Linked DNA regions of Homo sapiens: region 1 is linked to region 2. Evidence: promoter capture Hi-C in 16 types of primary human blood cells and fetal thymus (Javierre and others, 2016). All regions are on one chromosome and are shown on one strand. Each heading gives the region's core, a stretch centred on a gene start or on the middle of the fragment in contact. The rest is flanking DNA. Distances are from core to core; before and after follow the strand shown.

The links. Contacts are between HindIII fragments. The CHiCAGO score rates a contact against its expected background, and 5 or more counts as called.
Region 1: a contact is called between a fragment that was not itself captured here and the fragment with the promoter of VAV3 in region 2, in 1 of 17 cell types (neutrophils). The highest score is 5.6, in neutrophils.

Annotation. Positions count from the first base shown.
Region 1 is chr1:108,703,427-108,708,048 of GRCh38, forward strand. No RefSeq gene overlaps it. Among named protein-coding and RNA genes, the nearest start is that of FNDC7, 7.2 kb to the right of the region's middle. RefSeq lists an enhancer at 87-176. The HindIII fragment of the contact is 3,687 bases long and covers 1,154-4,622 here.
Region 2 is chr1:107,963,584-107,968,291 of GRCh38, forward strand. VAV3 (vav guanine nucleotide exchange factor 3) reads right to left here and starts at 1,597. Exons shown (of 27, transcript NM_006113.5): 1 at 1,083-1,597. The coding sequence starts at 1,286. It overlaps VAV3-AS1 (VAV3 antisense RNA 1), which reads left to right and starts at 860. Exons shown (of 3, transcript NR_046653.1): 1 at 860-921. RefSeq lists enhancers at 608-737, 2,084-2,378, 2,314-2,383. The HindIII fragment of the contact is 4,630 bases long and covers 878-4,708 here.

The sequences.
Region 1 (4,622 bases), core at 1,747-4,246, 740 kb after region 2:
GAGAATCCCTTGAAACCAGGAGGCAGAGGTTGCAGTGAGCTGAGATCACGCCACTGCACTCCAGCCTGGTTGACAGAGCAAGACTCCGTCTCAAAAAATCAAAATACAAAATACAAAATACGCCGGGTGTGGTGGTGCACGCCTGTAATCCCAGCTACTCCGGATGCTGAGGCAGCAGAGTCGCTTAGAACCTGGGAGGCGGAAGTTGCGGTTAGCCGAGATCTCACCACTGCACTCCAGCCTGGGCGAGAGAAGGAGGCTGTGTCTCAAAAAGTACCTTAAAATTTGTGTGTAACTTCAAAGGAACTCACAAACTGCCCTAGGACTTTGGTTCTGTTCATTAACTGATTTTTTTAAAACTATGCTTAGATGTACAGTGTTTGGGAATTAATAAACCAGAAACTTAAGTTCCTAAGAGTACTTAGGCAGTTAGTTGCAAAGGCAGTATCTGTTTTGTTATTTTACTTAGAGCTGCAGAGGAAGAAAAAAATGACAATGGTATTCACTTAATTCTCTTCCCTAAAAGTTGTGCTTTATTATAAAGTTTTTGGTTAGTAGAGATGAGGTCCCACCACTGGCAGTTTGTACATCTTTCAACTGATGCCAACGTGCAACCTCAAACACTGACTAGTGGACCAATTCTCAGGTGATATTGGCCAACTGATGGGCGTTGATTCTGTTCCTAGTTTGATTCTATTACGTAAATGCTGAAATCAGCCTTGAATGACTAAATTATAGGACCTCTTAAGTAGAGATGATTTTACGTGGCAGGAAACGCTTCTTGGTAGTGTCACTCTGAAATTTCCCCTCCGTCATTCCACCCTATAAAGTCCCACAGTACTTTGCAAGTACCTCTGAAATGGCATTTATTGGGACCATTGTCACAACTGGAAAATGTTAGCATCATGGCTGACTTAAAATCCGTTATTTGATTTCTCAGAGTATTGATATTCAAAGCATTTCTATTTACATAATCATGATCCACAATGTGTAGCACAGATATGTATCCAGATGTGTGTGTTAGGGGGTGGGGGGTGCTTTTTCAGCCTATTGCATAAACAGAGAACTGACCTTACAGCATTTCATGTAAGCCCTGAGGTTTTGCCACAAGGATTGGAAAAAGAACTACTTATTGTAAAGAAATCCTCACATAAGCTTCCCTGATCTGCAGGTACTTAAAGTCCACCAATCTTCAGTTGGTTTTCCTTGGCTGATTCTTGTTCTGGCCATTCTGAAGCTGAATTATTTCTCTGTTTCTTGAGTCAGTGCAATTAGTCACACACATCCCTGCCCCGCCCTCCAACAAATTCCATCAGCTATGAACCTCTGACATCCAAAATAAACATATAATCTAAGTGAAAACAAGCAGTGCTTGCTGAGCAAATGCAAGGGAAGACCTCTTGTCTTCTCCTTCCCTCTTATTTAGAAATTTTGAAGTCAATGTCCTGGATATTCGACTATACCAATAGAGGGAAAATCTTAAATGCAACACTCATCCAGCCAATCCAGGTACTGGTTCGGTGAACATTTCCTGAATGAAGTGTTCCATGGGTTAGCCGAAACTTGTGCAGGGACAGCCAGTGATTTGTGGATGTGCCAGTTATTTATACATTTTCTAGCTCCACATCCACCTTTTATTTCCCTGCTTCGTGATTCTGGAGCTGGGCCTTTTAAACATTTTTCCATTGCCGGCTGGCATAATGTTAAGCGTGTCAGTGGAGCATGCTGGAGGGAGCTGCAGCAGAGAGGTGTGTTTTCTTTTTTCTTTTTGCTTCTCCATTGTGTAGGGGCCAGTGGCATGTAGAGCACCCAGCAATATATATCCCCCAGCAAATTTCAGTACCATCTCATTGAGAGAAGTGGGAGTTCCCCGCAAGTCCACGAGTCCCCTGCCCGCTTCCCAGCAAGTTTGCTAGTGCTCCAGCAGGCACCTGCCCAGGAGTTTCAGCAGGACCTCACAGGTTTCCCAGTAAGTCTCAGTGGCACCCCAGTGGGTGGCCTCCTAGCTACTTTTGTTGACACCTCTGCTCTCCAGCTCCAACCTTCAGCTTCTCAGCATTTGCTGAGAAGCCACAACTGCACCCTCGCCAACAAGGTCTGAATCTCAGTCTAGCAAGGGAACGTCTCCTAATGTTTTCGTTTTTTGTTTGTTTGTTTTGTTTTGGTTGTTATTGTTGTTTTAGACAGAGCCTTGCTCTGTCACCCAGGCTGGAGTGCAGTGGCACGATCTCAGCTCGCTGCAGACTCAACCAGGGCTCAAGCAATCCTCCAGCCTCAGCCTCCTGAGTGGTTAGGAAGGATTATTATGGGCGGGTGCCCCTACAACTGGCTGATTTTTATTTTTCTTCCTAGGGACTGGGTCTTACTGTGTTTCCCAAGCTGGTCTCAAACTCCTGGCCTCAAGCAATCCTCCCTCCTTGGCCTCCCAAAGTGCTGAGATTACAGATGTGAGCCACTGTGCCCAGCCACGTCCCCCACATTTGTTCTTTTCTTGGGTCCTCTGCCTCAGCACTAGAGGTAATGGCTGCTCCCTATATCCACTATTACTGTATTTTTTTAGCCTTCTCTTTACCTTTAGTAGTTAACCCCGTTACTGGTTAATAATTCTTTGTATCAAACTTTGCCTCTTGGAATTACTGTGTGTTTTCTGTCTCTGGACTGGACCCTGAATGGTACAATGTATTAAAATGATGCCAGTCATATGGATGCTCCCTCCTTTGGCTGGCTGATGAAGTAGTCTAGTATAAAGGGCTCAGCCCAAGAAGTTTGTTGAGAATTATGTAAGTGAATCAGACAGGCTTCTTTCAGAATTTTAACAGAAAACTAAGAATTGGCCAGTCCTTAGAAGAGTGGACAAGATGCATAGTTGTCTTACAACAGTGACCATGTAAAAGAGTCACCGGACCCTGAAGCTGCCTCACTTCCTGCTGGCTTTCTAGTTTTTTCCCAGTCTGGTCAGTGGATATCCTTGCAATTTCTCTGTTTTTCTTAAGGTGGCCTGAGTTTCTCTTCCCTGGAATACAGGAGCCTAACTCTGGTTTCTTTTATTGTAATAACCAGGAATCTCTGATCAGTAAGGGTCTTCCTGATATTTTCTAACATTGAGTTTTTAATCTGTTTATCCTTGTTAGTACCAGCAAGAAAATACCATCTACTTAATTTGAGTGAAGAAGAAAAAAAGTGGTGTGTGTTTGTGACAAAAAGTGGGGTTTGTTTGTTTGAGACATGGTCTTGCTCCGTTGCCCAGGCTGGAGTACAGTGGCACGATCGTGGCTCACTGTAGTCTCAACCTCCCAAGCTCAAGTGATCCTCCTACCTCAGCCTCCCAAGTAGCTGAGACTATAGGCACACACCACCACACCTGGCTAATTTTTTATAGAGGTGGGGTCTCACTGCATTGCCCAGGCTGGTCTGGAACTCTTGGGCTCAAGTAACCCTCCCACCTTGGCCTCCCAACATGCTGGGATTATGGGCATGAGACACCATGCTGGGCCCAAATAGGAAGTTTTATATGATTCCTCTTTTTTTTTTTTTTTTGGTGGAAATGGTCTGCCTTTGGCAGAAGGGGGATGTAAGGGCATGGTGGAAGACTACATTATGGATTAGGGCCACTAAAAATCTTGCAGTTTCCAATGTTTTCCTGGAGTTAATCCTACTCTACATTCCTTCTATATCCCTAAATATTTCTTTTTGATATCCCCTACAATGGCCACTTCAAATCTTTACTAGTTTCTGAAGTTCCTACTTCATCTCCATATTCATTTCATATTCATATTTACTGCAGCCTTGACCTCCCTGGGCTCAAGCACTCCTCCCACCTCAGCCTGCTGAGTAGCTGGGGCTACAGGCACACGCCACCCCACCTGGAGACTTTTTTATATTTTTGGTAGAGATGGGGTCTCTCCATGTTGCCCAGGCTGCTCTCAAACGCCTAGGCTCAAGTGATCCACCTGCCTTGGCCTCCCAAAGTGTTGGGATTATGGGCATGAACCAATGCGCCTGGCCACCTCTCTCTATATCTTTCCGTTACATGTCTTAAATTCTGCCCTTGGCTGATCTACCTATGCACCAGATCACATTTATTTATTCATTCATTTGTGTGGTAGACTGCCAATTGTTCCCCAATAGAGATTACTGGAATGTATCGTTAGTCTCTTTTATCTCCTCTCACTGAATTCTGCTGCTTAGAACTTTAATGTGATAGCTGGAACTTTATCTTGGACCAAGAAGGAGGGCCTCCTCCTAGGGATGGCAGACTAAAGAGGAAAAAGGAGCCTGGGTCTCTCAAGACTCCGTGGAATAGAATTGCCACGCCACTCCTGGAGGCTTTGCCTCTACTATTTTATATCAGGAAGAAACTTCTGGTTAAGCCACTGTTATAGGTTTTCTGTCCACTCTCAGCAAAACCTAATCCCGACTAATCACAGTTCTGAGATCTGGAATTGCACACCAAGTAACATAAGCTAAAGTAGTGCGCATGAGCTTAGTGAAGGAGGGTGGGTGTCAGGAAGCATCAACACAGGCATGTGTGGTCTGGAAAGTGGATGATTCTTGTGTGGAGCATCCTCACATTTTCTCCCTCTTCCGTTCCAGACTCTTATCTTTATCTTTTATTTTCAGTC
Region 2 (4,708 bases), core at 347-2,846:
ACTTTAAATACATACTTATTAAATCATATAAAGTCCGTTCCTTCTTAAAAGGCGCTGCTCTGGTTGCTAAGTAGCTGAGGCTCTGCGTCATAGAGGATTAGTGCTGAAATGTGTCAGGGAGAGGGCTCTGTCCTCTCCCTTTTAAGTTGAAAGCAGTTTGGTTTTTTGTTTTGTTTTAACATTCTGAAAGAGAAAGAGGCTCTGAACCGAGTTTAACATCCTTCTGTACAAAAATTTTCCGACAGGACAAATAAACTACTCTTCCACTGAACTGTGACTTTTGAGCTGACTCTAGGGTGCACCCAACCTTCCAGAGGTGTCTGGCTTAACCCTCAAAGAGGCAGCTCCAGCCCCAGGAGCCGACCGGCACCACAGCACCTGAGCAGGGCACTGCAGGAAGGAAAGCGGAATCTCTAGTGAAACTTCTCATTTCCTGTCGCTGCTGAGAGAGGCTGGACTCGCTCCTTCTCACATGGCTTAGGAAGAGCTGTAAACGGGAGCTTGCCGGCTGGCCACCAGCTCAGGGGCCCTGGGGGCGGCCTCCGGGTTCTGCTCCCTGTTCTTCCCTTTGACCAATGTCACTCCTGGACAGATAACGGGACCAAACGCCCTTCACTTCCTCGAGTCCTCATGTATGTCATGGTTCCTCTTTTAGGAAAACATGAGTACAAGACGCAAAGCAAAAGAAGAGACTAAAGGCAAATTACCCCATCACCTCGTTTCGTCCCTCCCCTTCGTTATTATAGAAGAGCTTGATCAAATTCCCTTTGTCGCGCCACACACACGCAGAGTAGGTGAAGGGCACCCTAAGACAACTTATTTCTTTCCCGCCTCACAGAAAGCCTTTACGAAATCCTCACACCATCTCCGGACGCAAAGCTTTCGCATTCAGCTTGAGGAGCTAAACCATTTCAAGCCAAGGTAGGAAACGCCAAAGTGGTGCCGAAGTGGTCCCAAAGCAGAAGGCTGGGAAGCAGGGCAAGCTCAGCGCACCTAGACGTTTGCATTTACACAAAGAAATTAGCCGCATGATTAATGGGAGCTGCCGGCTGGAGGCGGGGCGCCCGTGCCGGCCTCCTCACCTGGGACATCTGCGGCCTCAGGTTGATCTCCTTCAGGTTGATGGAGTGCGCCCGGAGGTTGTTAAGCAGCTGGCAGAGCAGGACTCCATCGCGGAGGGTCTGCGCAAGGTCGAACACCTGAGCCGAGTCCCAGGTCACCCGGTGGTTGGTGGGCAGCACCTTGCAATGGATGAGCCACTGCGCGCACTGCTTCCACGGCTCCATGCCCGACGGCTCCGGGACGCGGCTGGGCCGGGGCGGGCGGCAAGGATGCGGCCGCCGCCGCCGCCGCCGCGGTTCCTCCGCGCCCCGCCGACGCCAACAGCCGCCGGCCCTTTCCCCGCGCGGGATCGAGGGAGCAGGAGCCGCGGCTGACGGGTCGCGGGCGCCGCGCTAGGCTCGGCTCCGGTCCCGGCCCGGGTGCGCCGCGACCCGGCCGCCGCTGCAGCGAGTCCCGCGCGCTCTCCGTGCGCCCCGGCCGGCTCGGCGGCGGCTGCCGCGCACAGGCTTCCGACTCCAGCGCCCGGCCCGCCACTGAGCATGCCCAGCACGCCGGCCGGTCTCGCTGCGGTCCGCAAGTCCCCAGACGCGCGGGTGGGAGCGCGCCGGCGGCCGGGGCTGGGGTCTGTGGCCGAGGGCGGGGCGCGGGGGAGGGGCCGGCGGAGGGGGGCGGCGGCCAGAAAGGGGATCCCGCGCCCCCGCCTGCAGCCTTGCGGGGCTCACGCAGCCCCCGGCGTCCTGGGGTCTTCTCTCGGGGCGGCTTCCCGGCTTTGCGGGGAGTGTGGCTGAATACTGTAATACGATGGGGTCCCCCAGGACCCCCTAAACAACAAATGCTCAAAGGAGCGACGGATTAATTGGGGCACCCAGACTCCCCAGAGCAATGAAAAAAGTGCCTAGAGCATCAGTAGAGCACGGCGCTGAAAGTTTTAGAGATCGTCGCCCCCTCGCCCCTTGCAGCTCTATCCCCTCCATTCTCTATAGCTGATTCCTCAGCCTATTCCTCCTAGTTGCCCCTAGTGGTGTTTTGGCACCCTCAAAGTGAGTGAGAGTGCGTGTGTGGAGACGCCTGCGGAAACCGCCCCGATCCCTGAGCCTATTTCCTCGCGAGGTGATTTTCACTTGGAGCTGGTTTGCCCCTGCACTGTCAGGCTCGGAACTGTTTGCCGTTGCTGTTCTGGCCCTTTTGCTGACCCCACAAAAACCTGCTTGAGAAAGGCCTGTGCCACGGTGCTAGACTGCGCATGCGTCGGCGACTGGCGGCCGGGTTTGAGAGCAAAGCGCGTTAGCCCTGGGCAGCTCCTGCCGGGCTGTTCTGGGATCCTTAGTGAAAGTTGGAACTTGACCCCAGAACTTTTGCGCAGTGCACAAGCAGTGCATTCGTGTTTCTTAAGTAAATCTTTTGGAGACTCTAAACCCTACCCCTTTTACTCCCACTGCACACTGCCCCTCAAAACCACAATTAATGTTTAAATTATTTGTGGCAAGATATTGCCACAGTGAATTATTGCTGTTCGATAGGAATGTGGTCCTTCGTCACCCTTTTGAGATGCATTCACTTAAAATTAGAAAATAGGCCGGGCGCGGTGGCTCACGCCTGTAATCCCAGCACTTTGGGAGGCCGAGGCGGGCGGATCACGAGGTCAGGAGATCGAGACCATCCTGGCTAACACGGTGAAAACCCGTCTCTACTAAAAATACAAAAAATTGGCCGGGCGTGGTGGCACGCACCTGTAGTCCCAGCTGCTCGGGAGGCTGAGGTAGGAGAATCGCTTGAACCCATGAGGCGGAGGTTGCGGTGAGCTGAGATCCAGCCACTGCACTCCAGCCTGGACGACAGAGCCAGACTCTGTCTCAAAAAACAAACAAACAAACAAACAAAAAGATGGGAGTTTGGATAATTTAATTGTATTATATTTCTGTAGCCCAAATTTTTTATTACGAACCATGCTTTATAAGCAGGCCAAAATATTATTTTTAAAAGAATGATCTGTTCAGGATAGTGATTGCGTCCTTTTTCGTTTGGCTGTGACAAGGATAGCACACTGTTTACACTCAGCGCTGAACAATAAATCAGCCTGAGGATTTCCTTTCCTCACACGCATCCTTCCCTAGCAATTTCCTCTTGTGTTCAATGCGGATTCCATCAATAGCACGACATTTTCTAGGCCATAATTTTGGCAAATAAATCATACTAATCTCTACATACCTTTAGAAGCAAAATCCAACACATTTGAATCACCATTTAACACAGTCTTTCATAAAGAGAAATTAAAAAGAAATTTCATTAAACGGGTCAAAATTTAAACTAAAACTATGAATTTTTTTCAGGTAGCATCAGATCACCTTTGGATGTTGGAGAATATTTCCAAAATCCACATTATATACACTATCCCAGGACGCAAATCTGGATTTAGAGCCCGAGCTGTACTGCTTTCTAGCAACATGACCTTGGATAAATTCTCTACAGTTCAGTTTCCATAGATACGAAATAAGAAATTTTTTTTTTTTTTTGTGGGGGGTGGACGGAGTCTCGCTCTGTCGCTCAGGCTGGAGTGCAGTGGCGCGATCTCAGCTCACTGCAAGCTCCACTTCCCGGGTTCACGCCATTCTCCTACCTCAGCCTCCCAAGTAGCTAGGACTACAGGCGCCGGCCGCCACGCCCGGCTAATTTTTTTTGTATTTTTAGTACAGACAGGGTTTCACCGTGTTAGCCAGAATGGTCTAGATCTTCTGACCTCGTGATCCGCCCGCCTCGGCCTCCCAAAATGCTAGGATTACAGGCGTTAGCCGCCGTGCCTGGCCATAAGAAGTAATTTCTAACTAATAGGGTTGTTGTCAGGATCAAATGGTACAATGTCTTGCTATTCAAAATGCAGCCTGTGGACAGCAGCATCACCCTTGAACTTGTCAGCACTGTAGACGTTTGGCCTCTACTCTCATACTGAATGAACCAGAACCTGAATTTTAAGATCTCCATATCCCATGTATTTCCATCAAAAGCCAAGAAGCACTGATACAATGCATAGAATGTGTGGTGCCTGATAATTAGAGCTCAATAAATATTACCCAATAGTAGCCACTTTTCATTAACAAGTGGCAACAACGACCAAATATTCTATTTCACTTCTCTGTATATAATATATGACTTCAAAACATAATGCTTCTCAAATATAGTAAACCACAGAGTTGATAGAAAGGCAACAGGAAAATATATGGAAGGCCTAGAAGGGAAGGAGTTTAGTGGAGACACGGGATTCTTCACGTAAACAAGGAGCTAAGTGCCAATAGGTGACTCGTGAAAGACATTTAAGTGTCAGAAATTGGTGCAATAAAAATGCAATGGGCTTCTCACCTGAGTTATCCTTACTAAAGGAAAAAATTACAGTCTTTTCCCTTTACAATTTTTTTTTTTTTTTTTTTGAGACAGAGTCTCACTCTGTCAGCCAGGCTGGAGTGCAGCAGATCTCGACTCACTTCAACATCCGCCTCCCGGGTTCAAGCTATTCTCCGGCCTCAGCCTCCTGAGTAGCTGGGACTACAGGCACAAACCACCACACCTGGTTAATTTTTGTGGGGCTTTTTGGGAACCAGCCCTTGTCCCAACAAACCACTGACCTCGGCCTCCAGGCCTGCCCTGGCTGGTC